Regions from separate parts of the Homo sapiens genome. Here all the other regions are linked to region 1. Evidence: promoter capture Hi-C in 16 types of primary human blood cells and fetal thymus (Javierre and others, 2016). All regions are on one chromosome and are shown on one strand. The core of a region is centred on a gene start or on the middle of the fragment in contact, and the rest is flanking DNA. Distances in the headings are between cores, read along the strand shown. Region 1 holds the start of BACH1-IT2 (BACH1 intronic transcript 2). Region 2 overlaps LINC00189 (long intergenic non-protein coding RNA 189). Region 3 overlaps LINC00189 (long intergenic non-protein coding RNA 189).

What was found. Contacts are between HindIII fragments. The CHiCAGO score rates a contact against its expected background, and 5 or more counts as called.
Region 2: a contact is called between a fragment that was not itself captured here and the fragment with the promoter of BACH1-IT2 in region 1, in 1 of 17 cell types (naive B cells). The highest score is 5.5, in naive B cells.
Region 3: a contact is called between a fragment that was not itself captured here and the fragment with the promoter of BACH1-IT2 in region 1, in 1 of 17 cell types (M2 macrophages). The highest score is 5.0, in M2 macrophages.

What each region holds. Positions count from the first base shown.
Region 1 is chr21:29,369,838-29,374,593 of GRCh38, forward strand. BACH1-IT2 (BACH1 intronic transcript 2) reads left to right here and starts at 2,664. Exons shown (of 2, transcript NR_046564.2): 1 at 2,664-2,726; 2 at 3,405-4,143. The HindIII fragment of the contact is 7,280 bases long and covers 1-4,756 here.
Region 2 is chr21:29,210,123-29,214,878 of GRCh38, forward strand. All of the region lies in intron 1 of LINC00189 (long intergenic non-protein coding RNA 189), which reads left to right. Among named protein-coding and RNA genes, the nearest start is that of LINC00189, 19 kb to the left of the region's middle. The HindIII fragment of the contact is 4,266 bases long and covers 548-4,756 here.
Region 3 is chr21:29,230,619-29,235,374 of GRCh38, forward strand. The region is part of intron 1 of LINC00189 (long intergenic non-protein coding RNA 189); the gene reads left to right. Among named protein-coding and RNA genes, the nearest start is that of LINC00189, 40 kb to the left of the region's middle. RefSeq lists enhancers at 2,909-3,088, 3,519-3,618. The HindIII fragment of the contact is 9,137 bases long and covers 1-4,756 here.

The DNA.
Region 1 (4,756 bases), core at 1,414-3,913:
CACTACCAGCTTTCCTGGGTCTGCAGCTTGCAGATGGCAGAGCATGGGACTTCTTAGCCTTCATAATCAAGCGAGCTAATTCCTCATAATTAGTCCATCTGTGTTAGTCCATTCTCACACTGCTATGGAGAAATACCCGAGACTAGGTAATTTATAAAGAAAAGCGGTTTAATTGACTCACAGTTGTGTATTGCTGGGGAGGCCACAGGTAACTTACAATCATGGCGCAAGGTAAAGGAGAAGCAGGCACCTTCTTCACAAGGGTGGCAGGATAGAGTGCAAGCTGGGGAAATGCCAGATGCTTATAAAACCATGAGATATCGTGAGAACTCACTATCACAAGAACAGCTTGGGGGAACTGCACCCATGATCCAATTACCTCCACCTGGTCCTGACCTTGACACATGGGGATTATGGGGATTACAGTTCCTGGTGGGATTTGGGTGGGGACACAGAGCCAAACCATATCACTATCTCTCCCCCTCATCCCCTCTCTCTCTATTAAATCCCTTATTGGTTCTGTTTCTCTGGAAAACCCTGAATACAGTGGGAAAGAGGTAAACCTTTGTGGTTGTAAGCTACTGAGACTTTGGGGTTATTTGTTACTGTAGCATGATCTGGCCTATTCTAATTTATACAGTGGGATTTTTTTTTCCCCCACAAACACTAAGGAAGTAGCATGTGGAAGGCCAGACCTTCTGTTGCCATCAGTAGGGGGGTTTCTGTAGTCTGAGGACCTATGAGCCTTTTGGGTTACCTTTGACTTGCACTTGGGCTTTTATGTTGATGCCAAGCAGTATGTTTATACTTCTCTAAAATGTATTTTTCTCTATATAAATAGTGTTTTTGTTAACTCTCACCGGCTCCAGTCTCAACTTTTGCCTCTAATTTTTCCCATAATATTCACTAACTCTAGTGATAGCTGTCTATGCGCATTGTACTGAGACTAATTCAGAGAGTGGGTTGGATGAACTTTGGTTTGATTTGTACGTAATTGTTAAAAACTGTGTTTAAGAAAACAGTTGTACCCTTGGCAAAACCTGGAAGTCTCTATGTTAACAATTTTCCCAATTTTTGTTTTAGGAAGCCATTCTGCATATTATGTTTTTAAATAAAAGGATTTGACTTTGGGCTGACAATTTAGCATTTAACCACTGTCTCCGCACCAGTTCCACAAGAGCAGGGATTTAGATTAATTGGAAAAACCTCATTGGTTTCTGATGGAGGGGGCATTCATAGAAACAACCTACTGACAACTAAGGAGCTACTGCGATGGGATGGGCAGCCTGCAGCTTCACTCGGTGGGCAGCCTCCACAGGTACTTTAATTCCTCGCTCTTCTGGCCAGGCATCTCTTGGTAAAGGCAGGTAGAGGAAGCAAAGCAATTACCTAGATAATTAAGGAAAAACAAACCTGTATGTGGCAGGTAACTTGGGGAGCTGCTTCTGATTTTCTAGGCAACTATTTTCATTCTTCACTTCTCTGGTGTCAGCAGGAATCTGAGCTAGATCCCAAGAGCAACTCGAACAATTACAATGCTCTCAGTTGGCAAACCCGGCTTCATAGCAACTTCCCTCCTCATTGATCTAGAGTTTGAAATAGCTTTGTCAGATCTCGGGTGTGTTCCTGCTGATTTATGGCAAAATCCCAGTAACAGCTGTGAAAATGTTTGTCCATTTGTGAAACTTCAGAAAGCGGGTCTAGCAAATCATTCTCACCTGGTGATTCTGGGGCAAGGTGAGAACTGTACCCTCACAGGCCGGGTGAATAAGATTCTAGTTGCGGTGGAGGCCAAGGAAGAAGATGTACTATGAGTCAATCTCTCTATGAGGCATTTGCTGAACCTTCCCCTCCTACACCTTCCTACAAGGCAGGTCCGATGACTTTTACTTTACAGATGAGAAGATGGAGCCTCCACAAGGCACATAGCTGGTGAGTGACAAAACCAGAATTCAAACCCAGATCCATTTGATAGTGACATTTGTTTCCACTACCCTAGTGGCTCTGGGGGAAGCCAGGACACCCATATTTTTGTAAAGTCCCGTAGTTGTTTCTAGTGTCATCCGGGTTGGAAACTGTATATTAAGTCAGTGGTTCTCAAACTTTAGCATGCATTAGTATCCCCTGTTAGGCTTGTAAAAACACAGATTGCAGGCCCCACACTTAGATTTCTGACTTGGTAGGTAGGTCTGAGTTGGGAACCAGGAACTTGCCTTTCTAACAAGTTCCCAAGTGATGTTGATGCGGGGGCCTGGGCACTACACTATGGGAACCACCACCGCATTAAGGTGAACTCAGAGCTGAATCTGACATGAAAATCTGCATTAATGGAGATGACATCAGATATCTGCAAAGTCACTTAATAGAGAACGGTTGAGACTAAGTCTTGACTAATATTAAAACTAACACATCTAAAAAGACTATGTCCATCACAGGTGGGTGGTCAGAATAGAAACATTACATAATGGGAAAGAAAATGTAGCTGATGCTATTCATCTAGAAGGAAGAAGTGATGTAAGGGTCAGTTTCCACCTTTGCTTTGAATTCCTTGGACAGCAAGCAACCATATGAGCATTAATTTGATTTATGTTTTTCAGGTATCGTATCTGATTTCAGATACATATGATGGTCTCAAGTGTGTTTTTTACCACCACCACTTTGTAGGCCTGTTGATGCCACTGCTGTTGAAGTCTATGTGAATGGTGCCCCCTGGTGGAAGGAAAAAGGTAGTTTATTACAGTCCGTTGTAAATGAGTGACCTAGCGTTGTTATCATGCTCTGCTCCTAGAGACCACTCCACTCACCTTAAACTAGCGAGCCTGAGGACCGGTCCCGGGGACCCATGAGAACATGATCTCCGAGAGCCCTGCCCTTGAGAAAGGTTCTCCTCAGCAATACTCCAACTCACCCCAGACCTAAAATTTTTTTTTTTTTTTTTGGAGACAGAGTCTTGCTCTGTCGCCAGGCTGGAGTGCAGTGGCATGATCTTGGCTCACTGCAACCTTTGCCTCCTGGGTTCAAGCAATTCCCTTGTCTCAGCCTCCCGAGTAGCTGGGACTACAAGCGCACACCACCTCGCCTGGCTCATTTTTTGTATTTTAGTAGAGACGGGGGTTTCACCATGTTGGCCAGGATGGTTTCGATCTCCTGACCTTGTGATCTGCCAGCCTTAGCCTCCCAAAGTGCTGGGATTACAGGCGTGAGCCACCATGCACGGCCCTAAAATTCTTAAAACGTGAAAATGGGGGAAGATGGTTAACACATCCATATGCTATCATGATATATATCTTTCTTCTTAGTTGTATGGGATGAAATGATGCCAAGATTTTCCTTACAGAGTAGGGATTGTGACTGAAGCCTTTGGACAGGTATTTAGGCCCTTATGAGTGTCCCCTCTTGTCTAGAGAATGGGACGCCAGGAATGTCAGATGCTTTTCAGCCTCTCCCCTGCTCTCACGCCTAGAAACAAGAGCTCCACAAAGGTCTCTCATTCCTCAAGGCTGATGAAAAGCCCAGCAGCTAAATGGCCAGAAGCCTGTCTTTGTGAGAAAGCAAGAAGTCTCTCGGTTTGAACTCTTCGGTCTAGAGACAGATTCTTCTACCAGTGGTGTAAAACCCTAAAGAGGCTCTGCATAAGACCTACCACTGCTCTGTGTCTCATGACACCCTGCCCCCACCACTGGAAGGCCACACTTATTCTTTGTGTTCATGCTTCTCTATGATCTGCAAGTTTCCCAAGAACACCTGGATTCGAAGCTCAAGTCCACCGCTAAATAGCTATGTGACCTAATGTGTCAGATGGTTATAAGGATTACAGAGAAAGAGGTATAGATAGAGCTGGTAGCAGTGACAGACACATCTTTACATCATATAATTCTGACATGCATTATTATTGTAGTTTTCTGTTATTCAGACATACTTGTTAAGAAGGTGCTGGGGACAATTTGTACATGCTGGGTATGAAAGGGCTTGGAAAGTATTTCATGAATGGAGTTGGCATTGAGGAGTCCAATCCATGTACAATGGGTAGAATTAGAAAGGCATTGAGGATAGTGTATTAGTCTGTTTTCAAACTGCTGATAAAAACATACCTGAGAGTGGGTAATTTATAAAGAAAGAAGAGGTTTAATGGACTCACAGTTCCATGAGGCTGGGGAGGCTTCACAATCATGGCAGAAGGTGAAAGGCACATCTTACATGGCAGCAGGCAAGAGAGAATGAGAGCCAAGGAAAGGGGGAAACCCCTTACGAAACTGTCAGATCTTGTGAGACTTATTCACTACCTTGAGAACAGTATGGGGGAAACCGATTCAATTTTCTTTCACCGGGTCCCTCCCACAACACATGGGAATTATGGGAGCTACAATTCAAGATGAGATTTGGGTGGGGACACAGCCAAACCATATCAGGTGGTTACATAAGAGATCCAGTAGAGAGGTGGGAACTCCAGAGGAGATAACTCACCTGGAAAGTAGGCAATCAGGAATATAGGATCCCAGTATGATGAAAAAAAAGGGGCTGTGGGTATGGGAGGCATATCTCAGAGAGAAGAAACACTGCTGTTCATGCCTGTGAAACCCAAGGTTTCCCCTTCCTCTTAAGGGTTCTCTCCCTCTAATGAGAGTTGTTTACACTGCTGATTAGAGACTATTAAGGTCTAGAAATCAATTTGTGTGGGGTTGTGGCCAGCATTTAAAAAACAGAACAGAATATGAAATATCAATGTGCATTGCACATAGTGAGTAAATATTACTTT
Region 2 (4,756 bases), core at 1,431-3,930, 160 kb before region 1:
AGATTAGTCTAAATAAGGTGACCCATTTTTTTGAGGCACACACTGCCCACCTGTCATCATACCACTGGCAAAGCCTTTAGATAATGAACTAGTACATGTGATAGCCTCCAAAATGCTCCCTTTGAGCTCTTTCTTTATTTTTAAATGTCTTGCTAATGGAGTTTCTTAAAACTGTTTTTTTCTTGGAGTATTTCCTTCAGGGTTGGTTTATATACCACACAGGAAACCAGTTTCATTACCTGATAATTGTGCTTTGGTTATAGAACCAATTCTTTGAATGGGCTGGACATAGGAGGCCAAGTAGAAGTCAGCCTTGTTCTTTCAAACCCCCTCTCAGATTTCTCTTTCCTGTCTATGGATAAATTTGTCTTAAAGATCCCATTTTCAGGTATTAAAAAGTCCAGCCCATGGGAAAACAATATTCACATGTAAAATAATGAAGTTGGATCTTTACCTAACATCATATATAAAAATTAACTCAAGGTATATCAAAGATCCATTTGTAAAACCTAAAATTATATAAATCTTAGAAAAAACACAGGGCAAAAGCTTCACAACATTGGATTTGAAAACAATCTTTTGGTGGCTGTTATACCAAAGGCAAAGGCCATAAAAGAAGAAATAAACAAATTGGGCTTCATGAAAAATTTTAAAATTGGACATCAAAGAAAATATCAGCTGGCTAAAAAGACAACCCACAGAATGGGAGAAAACATTTGCAACTCACAGAAGGGGTTGATTAGTATCCAGAATATATAGAGAACTCCTAAAACTGAACAACAACAAATGACCTGATTCAAATGGGCAAAGAACTTGAATAGGCATTTCTTCAAAGAAGGTGTATAAATGATCAATAAGCATGTGAAAAGATGTTCAACATTAACAGTCACTGGAGAGATACAAATCAAAACTAAAAGGAGATCCCGCTTGACACTCATTGGGATGGCTACTATTTAAAACAACACAGAAAATCACAAGTGTTGGTGAGGATGTAGAGAAATTGGAACGCTTGTACACTATTGGTAGGAATGCAAAATGGTACACTGTTGTGGAAAATGGTATGGTGGTGGATCCTCGAAAAATTAAAAAATAGAATTACCATATGATCCAGTAATTATGCTTCTGAGTATATACCCAAAGAAATGAAAGTGGTGCACCCATGATTATAGCAGCATTATATTCACAATAGCTAATATGTAGAAGCAACACAATTATCTATTGATTGATGGCTAGACAGGCAAAATGTGGTAAATACATACAAGGAATATTACTCAGCCTTAAAAAGGAAAGAAATTCTGAAATATGCTACAACATGGATGAACTTGAGGATATTATGTTAAATGAAATAAACCAGTCATAAAAAGACAAATATTGTTTGATTCTACTTATATGAGGCACTTAGGGTAGGCAAATTGATAGAGACAGTAGAATGGTGTTTCCCAAGGGCAAGGGGGAGAGGAAAGTGGAGAGTTAGTGGTTTATGTGTACAGAATTTTAGTTTTACTGAAGAGTTATGGAGATCGATGGTGATAATGGTTGTACAACATTATAAATGTATTTAATACCACTGAACATATACTTAAAAATGACTAAGACAGTAAATTTTAGTTATATGTATTTTAACACAATTTAAAAAATTGGAAACAAAAAGTCCAACCTAGGGTAACATCAAACTTTCAATCACTTGTCCAATTTAAACCTTCTCCCATCCCCCCACAGCTCAGGTGCCTGGGTCCTGGAAGCCTACAGTGGGGAAGGGGTGTTGCGGTCAGCTTCTCTGGTCCTCCTGACCACCTTTTCTCTCATCCACGGTTCCTCACGCCTCTAGGGTAGAATGCAGGAGAGTGGGAAGACTAGAGGCATAGCACAGTCTTAGTTGGCTGGCACTGTTACAACTGGCTGTTTCCAGCCCTCTGGGAGGCAGATGCCCAAATGCACCCTCCACACTTTCTCTCATGAAGTAGTTTCTGAAAATGCCCAAAGGGTCCTCTCACTACCTTGTTCTCTGGCTTTGAGTATGAAAGACTTGGTTGTGAAGTAAGCCATGTGATCAGATGACTGCTTATGAGCCTTGCTTAGCAACCTCATCTGATCAGATCCCATAGCCTCTCCTTTAGGGGTTGCTTTGCCCTGCCAGGCAGATGCCTTCTATATGGCCCTTTCAAGTGTTCCCAAGACGGTTACCTTCCATAGTCTCCATTTAACCCATAGAGCACTCAGCACCTGGCCTCAGACAGGGTATGAAGGTGTAGGCCGCTTCTCTTCACTTTGCTTAGAAGGGAGCTCTAGCTGGCCTCTCATTAGACTTTGTCAGATGAGAATCAGACACCTGTCCTGTGTCCCTGTAAGTCCAGGAAACTCCAGTTCCTCTCAGGGCCCGTGCTGTTGCTGGGGCCCAGAACCTGCCCCAATTTAGCTGGCTCCAGCTGGCTAGGGGTGGGGGACGATGGGAAGGGTGTGGTAGTGGTAAGCTGTCTTACTCCCTTCCTGCCAGACACCCCAGTCTCTATAAGCAGTTATTCTGAAGACTCTCATTTGGCATGCGCTATGGACTGAACGTGTGTCCCCCGCCCCGCCTAAATTCATATGCTGAAACTGTAATCCCTAAGATGATGGTATGAGGAGGTGGAGACTTCAGGAGGTAATTAGGTGGAGCCCTCATGATGGGACTGGTGCCCTTTTAAGAGACAGGAGAGCGCTTGCTTCCTCTCTCTCCACCATGTGAGGACATACCAAGAACTGATTCAGCCTGCACCTGGGTCTTCACTTCCAGCCTCCAAAACTGTGAGAAATAAATTTCTGTTGCCTAAGCCACTCAGCCTATGACATTTTTGTTATGGCAGTCTGAACTAACTAAGGCAATATGAGAATGGGAGAGAAGCGCTCCAGCTACTCTCCCAGGGGGAGGTGGGACAAACATACAAAGAAATCCCTATTAATCTTTGTACTCCTCCTGAATGGAAACTGAAGGAAGGTGAAGTAGATGAGGTTCAAGTCACCTCCTAGCAAATCATACACAGATATTCTAAAACTCTCTTTAAGTTTTGAAACTGGTGCACCATGATAATTCCACTGAACTAATTAATTGTCTCTGGTTGGAAAAATCTCAAAATTGTGAGGTACACGATTTAGAAAGAACAAGGACTATAAATACATTTAAAATATTTTTCCTAACCCTCCATACTAAGATGCAAAAAAATACCAATATTCATCTTCTCTGAAGCATGAATCACCTCAGAATAGCCCACGATGTACACTAATATGTGGAAGTACCTTCATGGGATTTAAATATATTTACCTTTCAATTATAGAATTAAGATGATTTTGGAAAATGGATAAAGAGACATTGAAATGTGGAAAAGTTGAACTCTTACACACTCATGCAAAATAGTTGATTTCCTCTTTTTGGCAATATCCCACCTGCTTTGCCCCTGCAACCCTCTGCATTCCTTGCTGCTGCCACACATGGAGGCATAGATACATGCTCTCACACACACACACACACACACAAACACACAAACACATAGACACACACAGACACATACAGACACATACACAGACACAGACATACAGACACAGACACACACACAGACACATACACAGACATATACACACAGACACATACACAGACACACATACAGACACAGACACACACACACACACACAGACACACACACAGACACAAATACAGACAATACAAACACACATACAGACATATAACATACAGACACACACACAGACACACACACAGACACAAGTACAGACACTGCAGACACACAGACACACATGCAGACACAGACAGACACACACAGACACACAGACACAAATACAGACACTACAAACACATACAGACATATATACAGACACACACAGACACACATAGACACACACACAGACACACAGACACAAGTACAGACACTGCAGACACACAGACACACACGCAGATACATACAGACACAGGCACATACAGACACACACATATACACAGGCACACACAGACACACACAGACACACACAGACACACACAGACACACAGACACATATGGAGACACACATACAGACACACATGCACACACAGACACACAGACATATACACAGACATACAGACACACAGACATATACACAGACACAGGCACACACACATGCACACAGACATACAGACACAGACACATCAGGCACACACGTAGACACATACACACAGATACACACATAGACACATACAGACACACAGACACACATAGACACACACAGAGACACACATACAGACACTTAGACACACCTGTGTATGGGAAAACAAGCCCTTAGTCTTTCCACTTCCTATTTGTCCCCTGACCCTTCTTCTATACCGTATACTCCATTTCAACCTTCCAATGCCGTTTACCATGTTCTGGATCTCCCATGCCTTGTAAATCCTGACAACATTTGTGTGTCTTTTGTCCTAGACCTTTGGGCTTCACTTTCTACTCACTGCCAAGAAAAAGTAATTCCCGATAGTGTTCTTGTTGGGGGTAAAAAGACATTCTTATGTGGTATCTCTCAGGCACCAAATGTACACCTTCTTTGCTCTCTTCAGTTCACACCACATAGACAAGCCTATAAAGAATTCCTTCTAGGAGGTTATTTGACATCTATTGAATTGGTTTTGGGGGCTCAGCCAAAAATAAGATAACGGAAAAATTTTATTTCATACCCTATTATATAGTAAATATTGTCCAGATTTAATAAACGATGTTTCTATTCTTTGCAAGTAGAATTA
Region 3 (4,756 bases), core at 573-3,072, 140 kb before region 1:
ACAGTTACTAATATCCATTATTTTGTCAACATGTAGCTATCTCTGTTGGTTTTTAAAATGCTTGAATATTTTCTGAATTTAAGAAGTGATTTTACAGTATTTGCTGTATTTACAGTATTTGCTGATTCAGATCATTATGATTATTTATAAAGCCAATCATATGTTTCTGTTTCTGTGTATTTTACAATTTTTTTCAATATGTAAGTGAGGACTGAGAATTAAGAAGTTTTTTGGAAAATGCTAGTTTTTATTAGATGGTGCCCAGAATATCTCAATAATGAAAAGTTGAGTATGTTGGAGTTAAACCAATTGCCTGCCCTCAATGCAGTGCTTATTTCAGTTTGCTGACAGCACTAGTCAGCAGTTTGCTGTTCTGAGTGTTTACTACCACATCCCTGACATATTCTACCCTGGAATCCCAGGACTCTGTGTTTTCTGGTTACGCTCGGCCTCTCTGGCTTCTTCACAGCTGCCGCTCCCTCATTCTCATCTTAACTGTGGCCACACCCAAAGGAAGGATTTGTAATTCTCTTCTTTGCAATTTTCTGCTTAGAGGTCTCCTCTGCTTCCATGCCTTAAATGGAGAAGCCCCAGTTCTTCACCCATGGCCCTGCCATGAATCTCCCAGCTCTGTGTGAAGGCTCTCCATTGAAATTAACAGGTCTAACATCCACCTCATCACGTTTCTCTTCACAAGAAGACTTTGGGATCTTCTCTGTTTCTGCCAGTGATTCAACCTTTCTCTCAGTCACTAAAGCTCAGATATATTGTAACCACCCAGTGGGTTCACCTTGCCTGCTGCCTAGACAGAATCTATCAAGACAGGGGAATTGCAATAGAGAAAGAATAATTTACACGGAGCCGGCTGTGTGGGGGACCAGAGTTTCATTATTACTCAAATCAGTCTTCCTGAGCATTTGGGGATCACAGGTCTTTTTTTTTTTTTTTGAGATGGAGTCTCATTCTGTTGCCAGGCTGGAGTGCAGTGGCGCGATCTCAGCTCACTGCAACCTCTGCCTCCCAGGTTCAAGTGATTCTCCTGCCTCAGCCTCTCGAGTAGCTGGGACCACAGGTGCCTGCCACCATGCCCAGCTAATTTTTGTATTTCTAGTAGAGACGGGGTTTCACATGTTATCCAGGATGGTCTCGATCTCTTGACCTTGTGATCTGCCTGTCTCAGCCTCCCAAAGTGCTTGGATTACAGGCGTGAGCCACTGGGCCTGGCCCAGGGTGTTTAAGGATAACTTGGTGGGTGGGGGAAGACCAGTGAATTGAGAGTGCTGCTTGGTTGGGTCAGAGATGAAATCATGGCAAGTTGAAGCTGTCCTCTTGTGCTGAGTCAATTCCTGGGTGGGGGCCACAAGATCAGGTGAGCCAGTTTATCAGTCTGGGTGGTGCCAGCTGATCCATCAAAATATCTGCAAAATATTTCAAGCACTAATCTTATGAGCAGTTTAGGGAGGGTCAGAATCCTGTAGCCTCCAGCTGCGTAAGTCCTAAAACATAATTTCAAATCTTGTGGCTAATTGGTCCTATAAAGGCAGTCTAGTCCCCAGGCAAGAAGGAGGCTTGTTTTGGGAAAGGGCTGTTATGGTCTTTGTTGTAAACTATAAATTCCTCCCAAAGTTAGCTCGGTCTATGCCCAGGAAGGGACAAGGACAGCTTAAAGGTTAGAAGGAAGATGGAGTTGGTTAGGTCAGATCTCTTTCACTGTCTCAGTCATAATTTTGCAAAGGCAGTTTCAATATCACAGTTCCTCTCCTCCCTGCTTAGGGAGACAGTGTCCCATAATTGTTAAGAGCACACCCTCTGACTCAAGCCATCTAGGTTCAAATCCTAGCCCTTCCCTTCTCCAGTTGCCGAACTCGAACAAGTATTGTAGCCTCTTCAAGCCCCATTTTTCATATCTGTAAAGCGGAGATCGTAACAAACTGTACATGTCGATGATGTCCACAGAGTTGGATCAAGGGTTACGAATCTGACAGCCCAAACCTCCAGACTGGCTGTGCTATTATTTCAGTTATTCTGACATGGCTCTGATGCAATGTGGACGTCAACAAAGCATTAAAAGTGAGAGACAGATTAGTAAGCAACTCCCTAAGGGTGGATTTTTAAATATGCACTAAAATTGTGGAGAAGTTAATATACTATATTAGTTCACTAGGGCTGCCATAAAAAAGTGCCAGAAGGACGCTAGGTGACTCAGAAAACAAAAATTTGTTTTCTCACAGTTCTGGAAGCTGTGAATCTAAGATCAATGTGTCAGCAGGTTGACTTCTGAGGCCCCTCTCCCTGGCTTGTAGATCTGTGACTTCAGATTGTCTTCCTTCTGTGTGTCTGTGTCCTAATCTTATAAGGACACCAGTCAGATTACATTAGGACCCATGCCAATAACCTCATTTTACCTTAATTACCTCTTTAAAGCCTTTATGTCTGTTAAAGCAAACTATAGCCTGAGAAGGACTCCCTACTTCTATATTTGAGTCCTTGCGGATGAACCGTAACCTAACTTAATAGGCAGATAAAATTGAAAACCTAACTTAGTAGTATGCACCTGTAACAATAGCTAAATCCTAGCCAATCCCAGCAGCCATATTTCAACCATTCATACACTGCTTAGTGCTCAAACTGTGTTCAAATAAGGCAAACGCCAACCTCTAACCAATCCAGCCGTTCTGTACCTCACTTCCAATTTCTGAACGTCATTTCTCTTTTTTTTTTTGGTCTATAAATCTTCCACCACATGGCTGCGCTGGAGTCTTTGTGAATCTGCTGTGATTCTGGGGGCTGTCTGATTTGTGAAACGTTCATTGCTCAATTAAACTCCTTTAAATTTAAACCGACTGAAGTTTTTCTTTTATCATGTCCCAAAACAGGAACATTCTGAGGTACTAGAGGTTTGGAGTTCAACATATACATTTGGCGGAGGTTGCAGGAAGACAATTCAGCCCATAGCATGTACCTACCTAAGGTCTTAACTGGTAAACAAACAAACAAAAAACCAACCTAGTTATAGTTTTAAATTTGTTTCTATTTTATTTCCCATGAGGTAATCTAAAAGAACCTGGGGAATCCAGGTGCTTTTCAAAGCAGTACTTGTATGGTGTTTCATCATTACCTCTCAGCGGGAGGGAAATGAAACTCAGACGGGCCCATTTGGTTTCTATGATACCAGCTTTCCTCACCTTTCTTGGGGAGAGTGATTTTGAAACTATGGGCTACAAAAGACTTTTGGATTATGTGTGAGCTATGCTCTCTCTCTGGGACTCCTACTATGCTTTGTGATTGTGAAAATAAGTGATTCAAAATCTAAGCTGTTGGAACTCTAAATTATTTTGAGCCATAAGGAAATGTGAATTATGGGGCCTGAGTCACAAGACAGGCAGCTGTAAACTAGGCAGCTGTGAACTTTTTGTAATATTTTTGATTGTCTGAATTGTCTTTTCCCTTACCTACATTATTTTGTAAAATGTTGTGAATGGTTGTAGGACGTGCGACAGGTGTAGCTCACCTGCTTGGTCGCCCCAAAGCTCAAAGGAGGAGCATGCAGACAGGCAGGTGCAGAGGCCAGTACAAGCACTTTTGGGCTCCTGTCCCACGGCAGAGTCTAGGGGTGGGTCTCTGTGTCACTCGAAGCCCATGTAGGCATGTATTACAAAGCTCTTTCAGATTTGTTGTCTGCAGACGGCTTGTGTGTTAATCAGCTTAACGGACCCTCTGCCTTATTGTGAGGGCAGGGGGCCAGCGTGACAACTTTCTTTATCCCAAGCTCTTGTCCAGTGTCCTGAAAGAATCAGATCACACATGGGCTTGAAGGATGAGTGCAAGGTTTCATTGAGTGGTGGAGGTGGCTCTCAGTGAGATGGATGGGGAGGCAGAAGTGGGGATGGAGTGGGAAGGTGGTCTTTCCCTGGAGTCGGGCATCCAGCGGCCCAACTCTTCTCCAGCCACCCCTGGCCAAGCTCCCCTATGAGTCCAGACATCCTTCCTTTTCTCTCTTTCTCTGCTGCATTGTTCCACTGTCACTGGTCTGCTGGTTCACTGGTCCACTGGTCTGCTGGTCTTGATGTCCAGCTTCTTGTGTATGTGCCCGCTAAGGTCTTGGGTTTGTATGGGGGCAGGATGGGGGGTGCATGGCAGGCCAAAAGGCAAATTTTGGCCATGAAAACAGAAATGCCTGTCCTCCTTTAGGGCTGCCGGTCTTCAGGCTTGAGGGTGGGCCGTTTGTTGGGGAACCGCCCCCTTCTACCCAGTATTTCCCTGTTTCCTGTCCATATCAGTGAAGGATGCCAGAGGAGACCCCTTCCCTCTTACTATTGACTTTCATTATAGATTAACCTCTTTCTTCTCACACAAAAACTTTATGGCCATCTCAATGCCTCAAGATGGAATGTTAAGCACACTCTTTTAAAATCAAAAGGAAATGAAAAGGAGCGATAAAGAAAAGAAAACAAGCTGCATGGAAAAGAAAAGAAAAGAAACTGATTAATTTGTTGTAACTCATAAACTGGCCCTGTATTGAAAATGTTGTAATCTTGTTAAATTTCTTTGCTTTTTCCTATATAAAAGAGAATTTAGCTTTTAACTTCAGAGCACTACCCCCATTTCTCTGGGACAGAGCATCCAGAAATGGCCATTCCCAGCTTTTTGCTTGAATAAACTCTCTAAAATTGGAATCTGACCCTTTAGATTATTTCAGGTTGACATGATGAGGAGTTGGCTATAAAGTCACTGCTCTGGCAAAGACTGAATTTCT